2 separate regions of the Homo sapiens genome follow, and region 1 is linked to region 2. The links are contacts of gene promoters, found by promoter capture Hi-C in blood cells and fetal thymus (Javierre and others, 2016). All regions are on one chromosome and are shown on one strand. Each heading gives the region's core, a stretch centred on a gene start or on the middle of the fragment in contact. The rest is flanking DNA. Distances are from core to core; before and after follow the strand shown.

Region 1 (7,159 bases), core at 4,346-6,845, about 17 Mb after region 2:
GGTAGATTACAAATATTTTCTTTAATAATCTGAAGGGGAGGTATATGTTGGCAAAAGTCATTTTTGAGAAACTTTTGGAGAAGGCAGGACTTGAAATAGTACAACATAGGTAAGCAAAGCAAACTTCATGGTGATACTGAGCTGGGGGCAGGAGGGTAAGAAGAACAGCCTAAGTTTGAAGTTGTGAACTAATATAATCACTCAAGACACCGTGAAAAGACCAGCCTAAGTTCAAATTAGGGAGTGTAAAGACATGCAGCCTTGAATCCTGCTTTGACATGTACTATGGGGAGGTTCTTTAAAGTTAAGCTGTGGAATTTAGATACTATGTTATAGGCACTGAAAGTACTGGAGATTCTTGGGCAAGGAGATAACACATTGAAATCTAAAATTTGTGGGGGCAGGGGGGCATCCTTGAAGCAAGAAAACCAACTCAACTCAAAAACTGTTGAATAACCTAGGCATGGGAGAGTGACGACTTGGGCTCATGTGGTAGCAGGAACTGAAATAAAATAAGATCTATTAGAGCCAGCCTTACTCAATATAGGAGCAAGAAAATCAAACTCATTTGTAAAAAGCAATTATTCATTTATCAGTTTACTGACCAAAGACCAAAAAAAAAAAGCACTGAATAAATAGAATTAGGGAGGCATTACTAAAGGAATTTTCTGTTCTTTCCATATCATCCCATAAAATCTGATATCTACTCTTATCAAATGATCTGAACTGAATCATAGGATGTTAGAGCTGAAAGGGACCTTAACTCAATTACTCTACTCTTCTCACTGATAGAGGAAAATAAAGACTCAAATAGGGAGGAAAAAAAAAGAGCCAGCTAGCATGACTCTGGGGCAAAGGCATAATCATCTGTGATAAAGATGGCAGGACCTGCATGTCCTTTGTGTAGAAAACACAAAAGACATGAAAACAGTATTTACTATGGACACTGAGGAAGAAGACAGCCTCACACATAATTTTATTGATAGAAATCTCTACAGAAAATCTTTATTTTTTTGAGATAGGGTCTCACTTTGTCACCCAGGATGGAGTGCAAGGCGTGATCTTGACTCACTGCAGCCTCGACCTCCCAGGTTCAAGCAATCCTTCTGCCTCAGCCCCCTAAGTAGCTGGGACGACAGACGCACACCACCACACCCAGCTTATTTTTAAATAGTTTTTGTAGAGATGGGGTTTCACCATGTTGCCCAGGCTGGTCTCCAACTCCTGAGCTCAAGCGATGCACCCGCCTCAGCCTCCCAATGGGAAATTTTTGAGTACTGCCATCCAGCAGGGAAAATTCTTTATCTTTCTTTACTAACATTTAACCAGTGATCCTCAAAGCATCTTAAATCACATATTATTTAAAGCTTAAACAACCTGTAAGGTCCCTTTCAGCTATAAGATCCTATAACTCTAAAAGTATGACTTTCCTATAAAGTTATATAGAATAAGAGGCAAATTTAATCTACAAGATAGAAAACTGAAATAAACCTGAAAGAATATTAAGCTCAATTTGATAATCATCAAATATTTATTACTACTAAGAGTCAGCCTAAATGCATGAGATGGCACTCTAGGTCATCTCATGAATTAAGAAAAAAAAAATTTGAACACACCACTTCTTTAAGCTAAATAGCTTGATGCATTTGAGAAATTATGAACCCTGGCTTCCGTACATCATTATGCTACCCAGTCTGCATATTATTTTACAAACAAGTTTTACAGTTTCATGTCATATTGGTAACATTCCAAAGACCACAATTATTTGGCAAGTAAGACTGCCACCAATTTTAGTCTTTAGCTAGTCCCAGCATGAGATGTTCATGCAAACCAGTCAACACATGAAGGTTTTTATAACCTTCAGTCCCAAAGTCTAAAGAATTTGTGAACTGACTTTTTTAAATTGCATGGCAGAACCCTCCCAACTGTCACTACTGTGAATGATACAGACAGACATCCTGCTTCTTCTCAATTATCTTCTGACCACTTATTCCTCCTGAGTACTTCCAAGAGTGGCAGAAGAAATAATGCAGGAAAAAGGATCAATTGTCCTATTTATTATCACCTTTAATTTTTAAAGCAATGTTTACAGAGTTTCAAATATGATTTCTGATTTGAGAATTCAAATTATCCATGCTCTCCCAGTCTGTTATAAAGCTAAAACAAGAATTTGTTTTACCAAGATTTGGGACCCATATTTGTTAGTGAAATATTAAGGGGATAAAAGGGAATTATATAATTCTGACAAAAACAGCGGAGATTCTTTTGGGACTTTCAGGGCATAACTCCTACTAAAACATTTATTTATTATACTAACAGGAGCCTTCAGAGGGAGAAGAATTCTAAACATCTAAATAATTAGGTCTACTTAAAGGCACGTGGCATATATTAGCCTAGGAAAAAGTAGAAGAAAACCACACCAAAAAAATCAGTTATTTGAATGGATGTGTACCGAGTAGCAAGTAAACTTACTAGAAAGATGGTCACTGATACAGCTAAAGAGAAAGGGCCATAAAGCAAACTGTGACCAGCTTATGTCAATGAGATACATGAAAGTACTTTTAAAAAATAAAATCTGCATTTTTTTTTTTAACTAGAACTATGACTAGCTGGTATCTTGGTTTTGGTAGTGCAATAGCACCATTACAGCAAGGGTAAGCAGGTCAATCCCTTGCAAAACTTACCTTGATTGGCCCAATGGAAACAGAAGGCCCCAGAAAAGAGAGAAGCATCTGGCAGTAGCAAATTGTTTTATTTTATCTTTCTGTGGAAAGAAACTAATTTTAAATAAGAACCAGAGCATTTAAAGAATAAATATTTTTAAAGCTCATTATCTAGTTAGAGCAGCTCTACCAAGAAAACAAGAAGAGCTCCTTGCTCCTTAGAGATGGAAAGAAACAGAAGAGGAATCAAAGTTGTTTCTCCATCACCTAGAGAGTTTTAAAATTTGTGTTATTCTAGAGTAACAGAATAAAAGGCTCTTTTATTTAAAGAACTCCTGCAAGCAGAATCTTTTGGGGCTGGTGCCTTTGAATAAAGGTTTTGTTTTGTTTTTTAACAAAATTAAGGGCAATATTCCAAATTAAAAAAAAAAAGAGGAAAATCACTGGACATTAAGCCCTTCTACTCTTAAGGTTAAGTAAAAAGAGACAGACACATAGCAAGCTCCTTTTCCCACTGCAATTTCACCAATAACTTTAACCATGAAAGCTTAAACAATTATCAAACAGTACTAATTAGCAAAAGATCACATGAAATTGGCTTCCAAAATATTTTGTTAGCCTAAATTTTTGATGATTTATGGAAATACTCAAATGGAAATAACCCAGCCACCTAAAGATCTATTATAGAACTTAACATGAAGCACAAAATTACTCATGGTAACTGAACCTGTTACCTTTCTTGGATGCTTCTCTAGAAACTCAGTTCTACCGAAATCACTGAATCAGCATTAAAACCTTTTGATCCAAATCACTCCTACAAAATGTCCATTTACAATTTATGCTAGAGATGGAAGGGACAGCTCATAAGCAGGAGTGTAGAAGCAACAAGCATTAAAAAAAAATAGTATAAGTGGAAAATGAACTACCTATTGGCACTGTCCTATGAAGAATCAGAATTATAGAGCACAAACTCCCCACCCTCCCTCACCCTCCTCCAACACACAAAGAGGAAGATATTTCAGGAATAAAATTCGCTCTAAACCAAAACAATAGCTATTTTCAGATTCTATTTATTTACATGGTCTACCAAAATCAGTTATGTTGCTGTATCAGATAATATTTACTTAGACCATCAACTTCAATTGGCATTCTTGAAAAAATAATCATTAAAAATAAAAGCCTGGATCCACACTTTACTTTTAAATAATAAAGAAAAAAATTCTTAGTTTTGAGGTCATCAGTAAATTTCTCAGAAGACTTTTTCATTATTTAAATTTCTCAGAAGACTTTTCCATTATTCAAATTTCCGTTACAGTCATGATTTAACATTTGGCTTATTTGAAATTATTCGGGCATAAACTAATCATTAAACAGCTATAACTACTGACCTAGATTCTGAAATCTTGATAGAATACCTGAGGCAAAAACAAATAAATAAATGCAAAATAAAACAAAAACAGTCTTACTTGTCCCATTGGTGGCCCTCCCATAGGGGGCATCATCTGCGGCATCATTCCATGAGGTACAGGAGGCATATTCGCTCTCTGACCCATAGGGTGCATTCCCATTGGGGCATAATGCATGCCAGGGTGCCCCATCTGAAAAACAGTGAACATTTTTAAATGAGCAAATAATACTAAATGCTTCTCAAAAATCTCATTTCAACAGATCAGTTATCTGAAGCGACATAATATTAAGCTTATGTGTAATAACATCATTGGATTAGTCTATACCTTGTTTCAAACAAAACGCATTCTGCTAGTATTTAAAACGAGCTTGCAAATTCCGTAAAAAAATGGGAAAAGTTAAGATGAATCCTGGACCGCTGGATCATAGGTTTTCTCTCTCTTTTTTTTAAGCACTGACTTAACCAGCTACTAATTGGCTTGCTAAGCTTGGAGGATACACATTGAATACTAATTTTAAAACTGTTATGGTGAAAACAACAACTCTCCTATTTCATGCAGATATAAAAGATAGCCAGCTATTGTTATTTTATAACACTACTGATTTTAAACTTTAAAATGCTCTATCCAATTAACTCAGGTGAGAGTCGGTCTTACAAAACACAAACAGTATGGCTACCCAGGCACAATTCACTCCTAACAAACTTATTTCCTAACATAACCTTTAAGACAGGTAAAATTCCTTCTGCCAAAAATACATTTTCAAAGACTGAGGTTCTGTCACTCACGGACACTAAATGCAAACAACTAATTCATCCTTTTTAACGCAGTTTAAAAAGACAACTACTTTCTTTACCGATGAGTCCATTGTTCTATGTTTTAAATTAAAACCACCTAATTATCTCCTGCCAATTGTCCCAACAGTTCCCCCTGCAGACCACCCCGACGACTAATGAAAACAAATTTTGGCAGCCGCTGTTAAAGTCTTACAGTATCAAGCCCCTGCCTCCCCCTCCCAGCTAAAATCGGGCCTAAAGCTCCAAGACGCTCACCCCGCCCAAGAGCCAGCACCTTCACCACGCATCTGTCTAGGCCAAGCCCACGGGGAACTTCCAGGGTCTCACATCCTTCTCTTTGTGCATTTCCACCCTCCACTTCTCTCCCTCAGAACATATCCCACCATCTCGAGTTCTTCCTTCGTCCACTCTTATCTTCTTCTCCTTTCGGAGAAAGCTTCCTGTTTCTCACTCCGTTTTTCATTGTGCCGCCTTCCCCCTGCCCCACTGATCCCTTACCGAGGGCCGTCTCCTCAGGAAGCCGTCAGCAGAGACCCAAGAGCCGGAGCAGAGGCTTGAGCCGGACAATCTCCGCTCCCCGTCCCCAGGACCCTGCGAGGGAGGATGGCTCTCCATTTCACTCACCATGAGGCCTCCACGCTCAGCTCCCGTCCCCGGCCTCATCGTCGGGCTCAGACTGCTCCGCCGGCGGCCACTGCCGCTACACATACCAACAAGAAGCGATCTGAGTGGCTGGCGCCCACTGGGGCTAAAGGTTAAAGGCTGCCCTGCGCTACGGGGCGGGATCAGCGGGGCCAACAGGCTGACGGGCTTCCCCGCTGTCCAATCAGAATGCGCCGCCGACACGCAGCTCTGCGGCGATTCGCCCCCAGCCTCAGCCTCACTCGGCGTCGCCTGCATGGGGGGGGGGGAGGAGGAGGACGGAGGAAGTTTCTGCGCCGAGTCCTCCGTCGGGAAAACTCTACCAACTTCCCCAGGGGAAGGGAAGACAACAGTGTCCCAGCTTCCCGAGCTTAGACCGCCTCACCCCGTAGGGGGTGGGGCAGTGGGGGTCTGCCACCTTCACCCTCCCCGCCCGAGTTACGTACGCCCCACAAACCTGAGGCCGCCAGGGGTAGGGTGGAGGGGGCGGGGGTAAGCAGCCTGTAGTGTTAGCGGTGGCTGGGACCGAATGCGCGCGCGCGGTGCTCGAGGCGGAGGGGAGGAGGCGGGGAAGGCGAAAGGAGGGGTTCGGAGGAGAGGGTTCGATCTCCGTACGCACCAGGTGGAGAGCGCGCGCCTGGGGAAGGAGGCGTGTCGAGTAGCGGGAGGGAAGTTGTAGTACGGGTGGGGAGAACCACACTAAAGGGAGATGGGGGTGAGCAGTTAAGGAACCGCGAGAGCGCCAGGTAGAGAGGTGCCCTTAATGGGGGAACCTGGAGAAGAGTGTGAGCGTAGTGGGGAAGAAGGGAGAAGACAAATAGGTTCGGGAATGTGTCTCCGAGGGCGCGAGCGGGCGCTAGGACCCGGCGTCGAAAAGATGAGGCTTTGGGGCTGTCGGGGCGCGCGCTCCCGTTGGTGACGCGGGGGTGGCGGAGGTCTCCGGCCGGGACGAAGCCCCGCAGGGAGTGGATACTCGACAGCCTTCGGCCTCCGCTCGCTTCTCCCTGCGCGCTTTCCTGCTCCCCTTTCCGGCTACAGCCCTGGGGTCGAGCTCTGGTCGAAGCGCATTCCGCCTCTCCTTTGGCCCTGCGGCTTCCTTTGCAACCCGCCGCCCACCCTTGCTCTCCGTGGTTTACCCCTGGGCTCTGAGGCCTGGTGGTAGCGGCCACTGCCGCGGATTGGCTGTTGCGGACCCGGGGCGGGGCAGGTGGGAGAGGCTCGTTCTCCGCGGGTTTCGTTGTGTTTCGCGCCATGTCGTTTGCTGAGAGCGGGTGGCGGTCGGCTCTGCGGCGCCGCGGTCCCGGCACCCCGGGCCCTGTGGCTCGGCCATCGTATTCCTCCTTTACTCAGGGGGACAGCTGGGGTGAAGGCGAAGTCGACGAGGAGGAGGGATGCGACCAAGTGGCCCGCGACCTGCGGGCGGAGTTCTCGGCTGGGGCGTGGTCAGAGCCCAGAAAGCGCTCGGTGCTCCCGCCGGACGGGAACGGGTCGCCCGTTCTGCCCGATAAGCGCAATGGTATCTTTCCCGCGGCCGCGGGCAGCAGAGCCCAGCCTCGGCGGTGGCCGGTCCAGGTCCTCTCTATTCTCTGCTCGCTGCTCTTCGCCATTCTTCTCGCCTTCCTCCTCGCCATCGCCTACTTGATCGTTAAAG
Region 2 (7,259 bases), core at 1,110-3,609:
TAAATACAACAGGATTTATAAGAGAAAATCTCAGTAAAATCATGGAGTAAACTGAATTAGAATTTATCTGAGAAAGTCTCAGTCAAAATAATAAAGCAAAGAGTTTAAGAATAAAGGGCACACGCATAGGGAGGGAAAAACCCTTTTCTGTAACTTGTATCTTCTTTATTCAATCAGTTTTCCTGGGTACCTTAAATGGAATGTCCAAAAGTATACATACAGTCGCCCTTGAACTCTGAAGGAGGCATAAATCAGGGCCTTACGTGCTAAGATTATTAGGCTGTGGGCTCCATGTGGCCGATGAATAAAGGCATCTTTTTAGTGATGCCTTTATTCATCGGTGTATTATAGTTGGCACCCTGTAGTCACACGTTTTTTGTTTTTGTTTTTGTTTTGAGACGGAGTCTCGCTCTGTCACCCGAGGCTGGAGTGCAGTGGCGCGATCTCGGGTCACTGTAACCACTTCCGAAGTTGAAGCGATTCTCCTGCCTCAGCCTCCCGTGTAGCTGGGACTACAGATCCTACAGATCTCTGCCACCACGTCCGGCTAATGTGTGTGTGTGAGTTTTTAGCAGACACAAGATTTCACCATGTTGCCCAGGCTGGTCTCGAACTCCTGACCTCAAGTAATCCTCCCGCCTCGGCCTCCCAAAGTGCTAGGATTACAGGTCTGAGCCACCGCGCCTGTCTGCCACTCGTTTAATAAATGGTCGTTACTCAAAGAGTGGTGATGGGGCCACTCTTGATTATCAATCCTTCAAACAGAAAAGCCCTTTTCTGTGACTCTTTTCCTTCCAAGCTGACTTTAGAAGTGTGTTTGTGGCCGGGCGCGGTGGCTCACGCCTGTAATCCCAGCACTTTGGGAGGCCAAGGTGGGCGGATCACGAGGTCAGGAGATCGAGACCATCCTGGCCAACATGGTGAAACCCCGTCTCTACTAAAAATACAAAAAATTAGCTGGGCTGAGTGGCGCGCGCCTGTAATCCCAGCTACTCCGGAGGCTGAGACAGGAGAATGGCGTGAATCAGTGAGCCAAGATCCCACCACTGCACTCCAGCCTGGGGACAGAGCAAGACTCCGTCTCAAAAAAAAAAAAAAAAAGTGTGTCTGTAAATGTAGTTCAGAACTTCGGAGCCCTGTCTTTACAGTTCAAACTGACCACGCGAAGACTAAAGGCAGTAGAGGTACTTTCTACAAATTTAGCCGTGCAATCTAATAGCGAGCAGGCCGAGACGCCCGCGATTGAAGGCCGGGGTGGAGAAAGTAATAAGGGCCCTGGAAATTACCCCCATCCCATGTCACCCACTCTTTCTTAAAATGCCATTAAATTCCGTTCAACTTTTTATCTCCCATGCAAGAAACTAGCGACTTGCCAGCCACGCCACTTCCAGCCAGTCACACCTGGCGTATTCGCCGCAGAATCTCCAACTCCCGCCACAGGTTTGGGACGTGTCCGCCCCTAAGCGGAAGTGACGTTCAACGGGACAACGTGAAAGTAGATGAGTTTAAATACGTACTAATAATTTAAAACCCCTATGGTATTTTGAGGAAACTCTTCCGGCTACCCTTCTTCCATCACTTCTCTCCCGTTAGGGTTGCGAAAAGGGCTCTGTACAGCCTCGCGACAACTCGTTCTCCGCCCTAATTTCAAGTCATTCAAAACTCTGTCCCTTTTCATTGGCTGAAGCGGCGGCATGGGTACCTCTCAGGAACTACAATTCCAGCCAAGCACCGCGACAAGTGAACGGAGGAGAAGTTATGAGTAGGGGAAAAGCATGTTGGGAATCGTAGTCCGCTCCAGGCCGAAAAGAGCAATCACCCCGCCCTCCGCCACTGAAGCTGGAGAAACCAGGTGTTCGTTTCAGAACCCGTTAGCGCTAAGGGGAGGAGCCAACCCCTTAAGCAGCATGCCTCACTTCGCCCCACATGGAGGATAATTTTCCTTTACCCCTAAAAAGCACTATAAATACCCACTGAGGAGATCTGGTTGTCTTTTAAATACCTCGAGTCAGTAAAAACTCACGAAACTCCGCACCTCAGGCTCCAACTCGTGGGAAAAGGTAGCTCTTTTACAAGTGGGCAAAATGGCTGTCCTCCTAGTTTTACCATTGGTTGGCTTTTGCGTCCTTCAAGGGCGGTTACTTACCACGGATTGGTTCTTTTTCTCTTGAGGTTGGAGGAAGATTTGGCACGGCTCTCCGCGGCCTGGGAGGAGGTAAAGGGGTGGAGAGAAGACAGTTTTTTTCAAGCTTGATTGGGCAAAACTCATGTCACTCCGGGGACGTACAACCTATGAATAGTCGGCTGCCGCTCAAAGAGAACGAAGAGGCGGGGCTAGTGCGTGGTGGGAAGGGGCGGGATTCTGCCAGCCGCGGCTGCCGCTGGAGCCGGTGTCCGGGCTGGTGATGGGGTTAATTCCCTTTCGTAAGACTCTTACTTGCACCCACCCAGCCCCGCCGTCGCCCCGCCGCGCCGCGCTCCAACCGCCTCCTCCTCCTCAGTAACGCGGGTAAGAGATGCCCTTCCCTCCCCCGTCCAGCTCCCCGGGAATAACGCGCCTTGCTCCCCTCCCCCGCCCGCCAACCGGTAGCGCTAACGGAGAAGGAGGCAGGCAGGGGAGAGATGTGGTGTGTGGAAAGGTGGCCTTCCCCGCCGGGTCGTCGGCGCTTCAGCCAGGGCCTTCTGACGTCCCGCTGCTGCCAGCCCGCCGTTAGGTCGGGTTCCGAGTGAGCCAGGCTCGCCTGGCCCGCGGCTGCGGCTCCGGCTGCAGCTGCAGCCACTGCCTTGTGCCCACCGCCCCCACCCGGGGGCCATGTGAAAAGCAAACCCCTCGAGGCCTAGCGGAGGAGGCAGGGGAAAGGTTTCCGAGTCCCTGCCATGGCTGCTGCTGCTGCCTCCGCGGCTGCTCTTGCAGCCCCAGGGACTCGGGAGCCAGCCACAGCAGGCCTGCCAAGAGCGTGGTACTGCTCTCTCGTGTGGCTGGCGCCGGTGCCCCGGGCTCCCCCGGCCGCCCCACGGCCGCATCCCCTGGCCTTGCACCAAGAGAATTTTCAGCTTCGACCGGTTGGTAAAATGTAGGTACATTTTCCCTGTGGTACCAGAAAAAGCACAATGGGAATATTAAAAAGAAAGTTGAATGACTGTCAGTGCCACGGTCCCCCGGGATCAGATTTACACACGTTTTGATTCCTGAGCCTTAGGCTGCCAACAAATCTTTGTGGGCTTTGAAGTTTTTTGGTGTTTTGTTTTCTTTTGTTGCTGTGACTAGGTGCAAAGGGTGACTCTGTTGAGCTTGTTTTTATAAAGAAACTTAAATTATTGGGACTATCATGCTCCGTGTGTAATTGTCCTGGGATAGTTAAGTAAAAGGTGAAGAAGAGGTGCTTTCCAAATTAGGATTAGTGAACAGCAAATGGTTTTTCTAATAAAATTTTCTAAATATATATATATATATCTTCATGGTTATAGTTTACCTAATTGTAACTGTAAGAAACCTTTTTTAGCTTAAATATCATTGATGACAAAAACTTTTAAATGAAAAGATGATTAAAGTCAAACTGAAAGTCTACCCATTTATAATATGTGAAACAAGATCTTCTAAGTAATAGGATACCAGTCTGACAGGAATAATTGGACACGTCTCAATTTCTAAAAATTTGGCATATTTGGCTATTTTTAGGGCATTCTGTTATGATTTCTTCATCACATTTTGATGGAGTACGCTCGTCTTTTCAAATACCACTCTGCTTTTATGCCTGGAAGAATATGTCTTTAAATCATGGATTCTATAGTCTGTAGTAGACATAACTGTGATCAGAGATAAAATTCTAGGCCCATTTCTGAGGTTTACTTGTTAGCAGAATAAACTTGGGTTCTGAGGAAACATCTGAGTTTTGATCATTTCTTCAGGGTTTGAGAAGACTATGGTGGCTTAATGATCTTCTGTATTCCATAACTAGTACACCTAGTTACAGAATTGACATAGATACATTCAGGTCCTGGAGGAAATTTGTGGTATCTATTAAAAAAATGAAAATTGCCAGTCATGTAGTAGTCACCTGTAGTCCCTGCTACTCAGGAGTGTGAGGTGAGAGGATCACTTGAGCCCAGGAGTTCAAGGCCAGCCTAGGCAATATAGCAGAACATGGTCTCAAAAAAATAAAGAAATAAATACACAGCCTTGGAAGGCAAGTCCCCTGAGATCCCCACAGAGTTCCTGTAACATATATTGCCAGCTGCCAGCATAGTATTTTCCAGAACTTAAGAGTTAATTGATAAATTATACAATCGATACTTTCAGATCTTGGGTGATTTATATAGAGAAAGAGCTGTTGAAAATTTAGGAGTCTTCTACATTTTCTTCCTGGCTGTTGGATCCCTCCATGAACCTCAGTTCGGTTTCCTCATCTGTAAAATGAGGATGATAATGCTTAACTTAGGGAGTTATGAAAATTAGAGATAAATATATAATAGTGGCCGGGCGCGTTGGCGCACCTGTAATCCCAGCACTTTGGGAGGCTGGGCGGGCGGATCACCTGAGGTCGGGAGTTGGAGACCAGCCTGACCAACATGGAGAAACCCCGTCTCTACTGAAAATACAAAAAATTAGTCGCTCATGGTGGCGGGCACCTGTAATCTCAGCTACTCGGGAGGCTGAGACAGGAGAATCGCTTGAACCTGGGAGGCAGCGGTGAGCCGAGATCAGGCCATTGAACTCCAGTCTGGGCAACAAGAGCGAAACTCCATCTTAAAAAGAAAGAAAACAGAAAATTAGAGGTAAAGTATGTAAATCCCCTAGCATTGTGCCTGACACAGTTTGTGCAATAAATATTAACTGTTATTTTCATGCATATTTAGAGAATGGGTTTGTTGTTCATATGCTGAGGGTGTTGTTGCAGCCTTAGAACACATTCTGTTACTGAAGAGTACCATGGGTGTATTAATTTATATAGTGACTTAAGCACAGTTTGCGACTAGTTATTTTTGATTAGCTTATGGAAGTTTTTTTGACTTTGAATTAAAATGCAAGTGTCTGTGGAATACATTTCAAATGGATTATTGGGAATAAAAATTAGTGTACTCCATGTAGTGGTTAACTATTGTAATATCTTTTAAATTTTATTTAGCTGTTAAATGTTTCAAGCTCTAGTTTATATACTTGCTATCCATATTCATTGTGCTACCAGATGACATTTGAACTGTTTAATACAGAGTTAAGATTAAGCAAATCATTTGAAATTGTTACAACCATATGTGACTACAGTTTTGTTGCTGTTCTTTTTAATTCTCCTTATTTATCAACACTTGAGTGTTTCTTTTCTGTGAAACAACTTGTGAGAGGTGCTATTCCTTTCTCTTCAGAGGCATTTCTGAAAATTTACTGAGTCTTCACATATAATAGTGTTCTTGGAATTTGTATAGTTAAACAAATTTAAGGTTAGCATGAAGACAGTTATATTATGAAGTCTTTCTGACAGGAATGTCCAGTCAGGGTTCAAGACAAGCTGCACCTTATGCAAAATAACGAGGTGAGGTATATATATGGTGGGCCTCCGAAGTCATTGAACCTGGTACAAATGGGTGCTTCTCCAAAGAGGTCTTACATGACAGTAGCAATAGAAAATTATATAAACTTGAAATAAGCTTTGTCAAATATTATGCAGAAGATGTGCATTGCCATGCCTTGCAAGTAATAGGGTTTTTTTTCTTCTTTTTTGAACTGGTACTTTAATATACCTAATTACATCCATTTGAGTTAGTATTAAGTTTTAATTTCTCAGAAATAAAGTAGTGAAAATTGGTAGCAGTTTTGTTTTTCCCATTCTTGAGAATATTACAGTGATAAACAAGGCTTGATAGGTTTGTAAAATACTATTGCTATTTGAATTAAAAAATTTCACTATTGACTTTCCATATTCTATTGTAAATAAGTTGGGGAATTAGTGTGTCAAGGGGGTGTGGTAACAAATGGTAATGTAATTTTCAAATTGCTATTGCAGCACCAAACCACAGAATCAATACTCTGTCTTTATAACCACATTTGCATATAGGGATAATAATTTATTTCTTATAACTTAAGATAACTAAAATGAAGGGCCAGGCGGGGTGGCTCACACCTGTAATCCCAGCACTTTCGGAGACCGAGGCAGGCAGATCACAAGGTCAGCAGTTCGAGACCAGCCTGGCCAGTATGGTGAAACCCTATCTCTACTAAAAATACAAAAATTAGTAGGGCGTGTTGGCGGGTGCCTGTAGTCCCAGCTACTCGGGAGGCTGAGGCAGGACAATCACTTGAACTCAGGAGGTGGAGGTTGCGGTGAGCTGAGATTGCACCACTGCACTCCAGCCTGGCGACAGAGCAAGACTTTGTCTCAAAAATAAATAAATAAATAAATAAATAAATAAATAAATAAATAAATATGAGATGGCTGTTGTGAAGAGAAGGAAGTCAGTTTTTTCTCAGTATAATTGTAAACTTTAAAAAAAATTAAATCATCTTCCACTTAATCCCCGAGACTTCCCATAATGTTTAGTAATACGGACATGTGCAAAGAATTAAATCGTATAATTAAACAAAATTTTGTCAAGTTAACTTTGCTTCTCAAATAAGGAAGTTATATAATTAAACACATTTGCTTGTACCTAATGAGACGTTAGCATCAACATGACTGTATATCATTTCCAGAATTTAATTCAATTAGTTATTGGCTGAGGGATGAAATAGAGATGAAACTAAATCCTGGCCTCAAACTAGTTTTGTACCTTATTTTCCAGCAATTTGGTTTTTTTATATCTAGATTTTATCTTTACTATTTTCCCTCATCTTACCCATTCTTAGTCTCCATACACACCTATTAACTTTAATTTCCTTTTCTGAGAATTTTGAAAGCCCTATAGTTTATGATCTTTTTTCCCTCTTTGCCTTGTGAATTTTATATTTGTGAGTTTTTTCCAAATTTCTACCTGTCAGCTCACTTCTTTAGGCAAGGTGTAAGGTTTTTGAGCCCCCTTATTTCATTTTTTATTTTTTTAAGAGACAGGGATTCACCCTGTCACCCAGACTGGAGTGCAGCGACAGGATCATAGCTCACCACAGCCTTGAACTCTGAGGCTCAAGGGAGCTTCCCATCTTATGCTCCCAAGTAACTACGACTACAAACTTGTCACTAGGACTACAGGCATATGGCTAATTTTTTAATTTAGTAGAGACAGGTTCTTACTGTGTTACCCAGGCTGGTCTCCCACCTCCTGGGCGCAAG

Evidence for each region. Contacts are between HindIII fragments. The CHiCAGO score rates a contact against its expected background, and 5 or more counts as called.
Region 1: the fragment with the promoter of PRPF40A here is called in contact with the fragment with the promoter of R3HDM1 in region 2 in 3 of 17 cell types (non-activated CD4 T cells, total B cells and naive CD4 T cells); the score reaches 10.8 in non-activated CD4 T cells.

What each region holds. Positions count from the first base shown.
Region 1 is chr2:152,711,866-152,719,024 of GRCh38, forward strand. PRPF40A (pre-mRNA processing factor 40A) reads right to left here and starts at 5,596. Exons shown (of 26, transcript NM_001365597.4): 1 at 5,365-5,596; 2 at 4,130-4,261. The coding sequence starts at 5,574. ARL6IP6 (ARF like GTPase 6 interacting protein 6) reads left to right here and starts at 6,755. Exons shown (of 4, transcript NM_152522.7): 1 at 6,755-7,159. The coding sequence starts at 6,760. RefSeq lists enhancers at 5,296-5,595, 6,144-6,849, 6,316-6,385, 6,406-6,495, 6,726-6,925 and 2 more and a silencer at 5,996-6,095. The HindIII fragment of the contact is 8,844 bases long and covers 5,301-7,159 here.
Region 2 is chr2:135,529,125-135,536,383 of GRCh38, forward strand. R3HDM1 (R3H domain containing 1) reads left to right here and starts at 2,360. Exons shown (of 27, transcript NM_001378107.1): 1 at 2,360-2,509. It overlaps ZRANB3 (zinc finger RANBP2-type containing 3), which reads right to left and starts at 2,094. Exons shown (of 21, transcript NM_032143.4): 1 at 2,003-2,094. RefSeq lists enhancers at 1,407-1,486, 1,837-2,106, 2,075-2,369 and a silencer at 2,337-2,526. The HindIII fragment of the contact is 3,394 bases long and covers 2,248-5,641 here.